Regions from separate parts of the Homo sapiens genome. Here region 2 is linked to region 1. The links are contacts of gene promoters, found by promoter capture Hi-C in blood cells and fetal thymus (Javierre and others, 2016). All regions are on one chromosome and are shown on one strand. The core of a region is centred on a gene start or on the middle of the fragment in contact, and the rest is flanking DNA. Distances in the headings are between cores, read along the strand shown.

Region 1 (3,200 bases), core at 446-2,945:
CTTGCTAAGGAGACTGGGCTGAGCACTGTGATAAGCCATCTTGCAGGGATACACTTAAGCACTTTGCAATCAATGGATGGAAGGAAGGAAACCTTTTCTTCTCTGGCAGATACTGAGATACCCATGGAACTAACAAGGAAACAAGGAAGTGAGACATGAAGTAGCTTGCATTGCTGACGATTCCTTAATGATGGAATAGGACTGACACCCAGAATGAAAGGATTTTCATAACAGATAATGTCACTGGTATGTGGAAAGTGCAAAAGTAACGACATAGACCTTCGTTAGAATCTTGACACTGTCGCTTAACAACAGTGACTTTAAGCGTGGGTTTTCTCATCTGAAAAATGGGAGGAGAGGTTTCTAATCCATGGTTTTTGTTTGTTTTTAATTTCTCCAAGAAAAAACACGGGCTTGTTATGAGAATTAAATGGGATGGTGCTCGTACCAGCACAGTCCCCCCTCCCCGCCAGTCCCCCAGCATGTTACCTGCTGGGTTCTTACTGAGGTACACTATTTAAACATGGACATATCTGAGCCCCACCTAGGAGATACTGAGTCATAACAGGGTGGGGTGGGGAGGATGGTGTTTAGGAAAATCTGTGCTTTTCACAGTAATGCAAGGAATACACCGCCAAGTTTGGGACCCAGTGTCTCCCAAACTGTTAACAGTAGCAGCTAACAAGCTGGGAGCTTACTATGTGCCAGATTTTCTGCAAACCCCTGGTAGATGGGTTCTCAAACTTCATGTGCTTCAGAGTTGCCCAGGCAGCTACGAAGGACAGCGGATCCCCAGCCCCACCCCCGAGATTGAATGGGTGGGGCCCAGAAAGCTGTTTTAAAATACACGCTCTCGCTCCCAGGTGGCTGGTTGCACTCAGTCTCTGGACCACACTTTGGGAAACAATGCACCGGGAGAAACCAGGGACTTGAAAAACGCTGATGTCCTCCTCGGTTAAATAAAAACTGAACCCCAAACCCAAATAAAGCGACCACGGCCCCGTTTTCCATTCAGATCTCCACCCTTAATGAGGAAAAGGCTTTGCAATGAGCCGGCAGGACCTCGTGAGACCTGGTGATTCCCCCAATCTCCAGGCTCTAATTTTGAGCCACTGAGGCAGAAGTTTTCCCATCAGTGTTGCCCCGTTTACCCTAGATTCCTCCCTTTCTCCTGCCCGCCCCAAACTCCGCCTGATGGGGCGGGAATGCCCTTAGGGGGTGGCGATTGTCTGAACGGCGTGCCCTCCCCCACTGTTCCCTTCCAAGGGGTCTCGCAAGGCTGGAGAGCGCCCCCGGTCTTGCGCCAGGTCGGGTGCGCCCCCACCCCAAGCCCACTCCGGCGCCCCCTGCACAGCGCGCCCGCCGCGGTCCCCGAGACGCGGCTCCGAGCCGTCACCCCGATTTCGGGGCCCCGGGCCTGCTGGCTGCGTCGCAGACGTGCTTGGGCCCGGGCCCCGGAGCGCGCACTGGGCCCCGGAGCGCGCACTGCTCCCGGAAAAGCACTTACTTTGCACCGAGCCCGCGAAGCTCTCGCCCTCGCTGCTCGCGTTCATGGCCGCAGACTGGGAGGTCCCCGGCCGGCCGGGATGCCAAAGTGGGGGACGCTGATCTACATGGTGCAAGGACTTTTCCTTTTATTTTTCCACACCCCCCACCCTGCCTTCTCCCAACTCTGCGAGGCGGGGAGGACGGATGTAAAGCAAGCTGCACTTCCGCTGCCTAGAGGGCGCTGGCCGGGCCCGGCGCCCCAACCTGGCTTTGCAGCAGCGGCTCCCCGGGGAAGCGGCGGGCGAATCCCGAGGCCCAGGCCCGCGGAGCCCCCCAACGCCCCCGGGGAGCTGGATGGCCACGCGCGTCCCGGCGTGCTGGGCGACCGCGGGTGGCGAGGGATGCGCCCCTGCCCGCACTCTGCGTTCTCCGCGGACGCGATTGGCCTCCCCGGCTCGGGGCGCCTTTTGCACCTGCAACCCCAGGCGTTGGGCCCCCAGCGCGGCCGTGCAGCAGCGCTGCTCCCGGGACGCCTGGGTGGTTTGCGGGGAGACCCACGTGCGGCTGCCGTTGCGGGGTGGGTGCGCGGGGCGCGGCGAGCTCCGGAGAAACCCAGGTTGGGCGTGAGCGCTGGGCAAATCAGCAAAGCGCTGGGCGGGTCCCTTGCCCCGCTAGGGAGACTGAGAGGACCGCGAAGAGGTGGGGTCGTAGCGCGGAGGGACCCCTGCTCCAGGAGCTGCCAACTTTATCGTGCATCGCAGTCGCCTGAAAGGCTTGTTAGAACACACGCTGTTGGGCCCACCCTAGCGTTTCTGCTTCAGTAGGTCTGGGGCGAGGCGTGAGAACGAGCATTTCTAAGTTCCCAGGTGATGCCCCTAGTGTTGGTCGGCGTCCACACTCTGAGGACAGTGACCTCTCTGCTCTGTCCCTCATGTCTTACTACTACTGTCTCCCCCGGGCTCCTGCGTCAGCCCTATTGTCTCTCTGCCGACCCTCCCAAGCCTCAGACCTCTCCCAGCCTCGAGGGATTTGCCCATAGAGTCTGTCCTGCTTCTGAAGGTCAGCATTCAAATTCACACTCAGGGAGGCCATGCTTGGCCTAATCTAATCATTCTAATATTGCAGCCCCCTCCTCCTCCCCCAACCACTCCCTGTCTCCTTCCTGTTTTTTTCTTTTTCTTTTTCTTTTCTTTTCTTTTCTTTTCTTTTCTTTTCTTTTCTTTTCTTTTCTTTTCTTTTCTTTTCTTTCTTTCTCTCTCTCTGCCTCTCTCTCTTTCTCCCTTTCTTTTTTTAGAGAGGGGGTCTTTCTCTGTCTCTCAGGCTGGAAGAGTGGTCGGATCCTAGCTCATTGCAGCCTCCAACTCCTGGGCTCAAGCAATCCCCCCTACAGGCGTGGGCCACCACCCTGGCTCACTTTTTAATTTTTATTTTTGTAGAGATGTTGCCCAGGCTGGTCTCGAATTCCTGGCCTCAAGCGATCCTCCATCAGCCTCCCAAAGTGCTGGGGTTACAGGTGTAAGCCACCATGCCTGGCCTGCTTTGTCCTTAAAAGGTGTTAGATGGAACATATTATGTATCTCGAGTATATCTGCTTAGATATAATTTAGTTGTATATTATCTGTGTTCTCCTCCCCCTTATTTTCAGTAAGTCCCTGTAAAAATGGGGATTAAAAAAATCTCTTTGCTTCACTGATGTAGTCCAGTGACTTGGC
Region 2 (3,200 bases), core at 430-2,929, 990 kb after region 1:
GGATTACAGGCACGAGCCATCGCACCCAGCCAGAAGTTGTATTTCTTTATGTATTTATTTTTGTTATTATTGTAGAAATTATATTGTAGAAATTTTTTGTTATTATCATTGTAGAAATGGGAGTCTTAGTATGTTGTCCAGGCTGGCCTCGAACTCCTGGCCTCAAGTGATCCTCCTGCCTCAGCCTCCCAAAGTGCTGAGATTACAGGTGTGAACCACTGCATCCAACCACTGTATGCATCTTTGTAACCTACCTGCCTTACCAGGGGTAAAAGGACACCTAAACCAGCTCCCAGGAAAACCTCTGTCCTTACCCAGCATGGTTTTAGATTCCAATACAGGTTAAAATTGCCGTGGCTCATGTGAAGATGAAGAGTTAGTATAAATTGTTAGTTCAGGATTTAGTGGAGTGCATCTCAAATTTTAATGTGCGTATGAATCTACTGGGGATCTCATTAAAATGTAGATTCTGATTCAGCAGATCTGTGCCGAGATTCTACATTTCCAAGGAGCCTTCACTGGTGCACATACGGCTGGTCCTCAAACCACACTTGAAGAAGCAAGGCTTTAGACTTGCCCTTTAATTCCAGTTCTTTCTTCAGGGCTGCATTAGGTCTTCCATGAATCCTTGGCACCTTTACCTTCGGGGCCCCTCGCATTTAAAAAGATATTAAAAATTATATCCTATGATTACATTAGTATACAGACAAATATGTTAATCTACATTTAAGCAGTTTCTTCTATCTAAAAGTTCATTATTTTTCTTCTGATTTTAAAATAAATAAAAATCTGGTCATGGACCCACACATAATGTTTCTAGGGACAGTTCCTAGGTGCTCTCCCTACAGTGCCCAAGGTAGGACTTGATCCCAATGTTGAGAGGAGTTGCCCCTTACTGACTTCATGCTGAAACTCTCAGAGCCTCTATTTCCTCATCTGTAAAATGGGGATCACAGTATCTCTCGCACTGCTTTGGCTCTTTGCACAGTGCCTGGTGCATTGTAAGCACTCTGGAAATGTTAGCTTTTGTCTCCAAAAGTTACCTGGCTCCCCGTTAGCTGTCACTGTCTCATGACCTATTAAAAGTCAGATCCTACACACATCACTGCTGCTCTCTTAAAGCTGTTTGATATGTCCTACTGGTTGCATGACCTGGATAATTTCCATAAATTAACCTCTTTTACCTTCCATTTCTGCGCTACCCTGCTGTTCCTCTTCTGGAAGGACCCTATCATCTCTTGGACGCAGCAGACAGCGATGCCACACGAACTTCTGCCATGACACTCGGCACCTCCCGCGAGTGCTCAGACACTCATCTGCAGCTTGCTCTCTAAACTCATCATTTCTGTAGAAAGGCAGCACAGCCCCTGATGGATCTGGAATTAACTGTCGATTTTTCTGCCTGTCACTCTGAGAAGAGGAAGGGACCATAGAGCTAATCACATGAGGCATCACCATCACTGTTTTCATGTTCTTTTGTTTATCTTAGCCCCTGACTCCTCTTGATTGTACTTGCCTCAATCCTAAGACTCTGTCCATTGTAAAACATGCTGTAGATTTGGCCAAAGCTTTTTTGGGGAGGAGTGAGTGAGAGGTGGAGAAGGAACCCTCGCATATTAAATGTACACACAAATTGCATCCCAATTTCATGTGGAAATTAAAATAAGGTGATTTCAGAGTGAAGGAAATGCAATCATGTTTTATGGAGTTTGATAAAATCCCATAGTCTCATTAAGGAAATAGTCATCACCAGGATGTGGGCCTCACTTTATAAGAAGATAGAGTAAAATGAAGCTTAATTTTCCTTTGTAATATTTTTGATACTTCCAAATAGTGATAGCATCCAGTCATAGCATCGCCAAATGATAGATGCAGAATTTGCTATAAATTTGGATTTTCAAGCTATATCCTTTTTCATTTTCTTCTATAGGAATTCCTATCACATGTACTCTTTGAAGTAGTAATGTAAGATCTTAAGTTTTCATAAGCACTTTGCATTGCAATTCAGAGCATCCACTCATGCGAAACATAAGCTGTAGTTTTAGTGTGATTTTTTTAAAGGGGAAAGGGGTCAAACCCTTGCCAGTTGGTCAAACTCTTTTCTTTTTAGTTTATCTTCATCACAGTCCAAATCTTTCTCATTGAACGGGAAACATTTTCTGATCTCAACCTTTATTGATACAAATGTTGATTTTTTTTTTTTTAAGGAAAAGAGTATCTCCTTCCTCAAAAGGGATTTCATTTGAGTGTTTCTTTCTCATTTTCTTCGAAGTAATTCTTCCAAATTGACCCACACCACATCGAGTCTTGGTCTCCACTGCCAACCTCAATTATAAAATGGAAACTAGGTGAACAAATTATCAAACCTCTGTATGGGAAATGTGGAAAACATTTAGAAATATTCACCAAGATTTACTTCCAGCCATCATGACTTAATCACAGGTGCTGCATCCGTAATTTTCACCTTACAGAAAGTACATAAGCAGCTTTGCAGATTTCAGTGCTAGGATGCCAAAGGATCCAGAGAAGTCATAGGTGAGACTTCAGGTGGACAAACTACCTGGACAGTTGACAAGGTTTCCGGCTGTTCCAGAAGCTCACGTGCCACCTGAGTAGGCTTACTGAGTGATAGCCCATAATTGACAGGTATTACCTCTTGACTCTGAACATCTGGTCTCCCATTTACTCCCTCCCCTGGTTCTTCTGTGACCCATCGTCATTGTCCAGGCGGCCTTGCCTGTTGAACATATCGCTTGACCAGCACTGCTTCCTGGATATCTGTAGAGCCTTTGGCATACCCACACGTGTATTTTATAAAATTTAAGTTCAAACTAAAGCGTGCTGGGGGCCAGAGAAGATAAATGCCAGCTTTTTTATCGTCAAGGTAACGATAAGAGATTCACTAGAATTTACATAGCACCAAAGTCGATTTACGTGCTTATTTACTCTGTTGTTCTCCTTTAAAAAAGATGGAGTTACCCTAGCAACTGTAAGATCACGTGATGTTCAGAATAACCGTAATGGAAACACCTTCTGAAAGGAAAATACGCATTTCACCAGATGCATATTATAGGCACATAAACTGTCATTTATAGAATGTCGAACCATTTTGGAAATGATTGGAGGAGGTTCATGTGGCATTGAGTACTTTCCCCATTAATTACTTCAGTAGCTTCAGAGATTCTGTGACAAAAGAAAGA

Evidence for each region. The method cuts DNA at HindIII sites, captures the fragments that hold promoters and counts their contacts. A CHiCAGO score of 5 or more calls a contact.
Region 2: a contact is called between a fragment that was not itself captured here and the fragment with the promoter of ZFP64 in region 1, in 1 of 17 cell types (naive CD8 T cells). The highest score is 5.8, in naive CD8 T cells.

Annotation. Positions count from the first base shown.
Region 1 is chr20:52,190,084-52,193,283 of GRCh38, forward strand. It overlaps ZFP64 (ZFP64 zinc finger protein), which reads right to left and starts at 1,696. Exons shown (of 6, transcript NM_018197.3): 1 at 1,508-1,696. The coding sequence starts at 1,553. RefSeq lists enhancers at 551-1,407, 2,448-2,577 and silencers at 1,168-1,407, 1,768-2,037. The HindIII fragment of the contact is 28,170 bases long and covers 1-3,200 here.
Region 2 is chr20:53,176,954-53,180,153 of GRCh38, forward strand. All of the region lies in intron 1 of TSHZ2 (teashirt zinc finger homeobox 2), which reads left to right. Among named protein-coding and RNA genes, the nearest start is that of TSHZ2, 210 kb to the left of the region's middle. The HindIII fragment of the contact is 226 bases long and covers 1,567-1,792 here.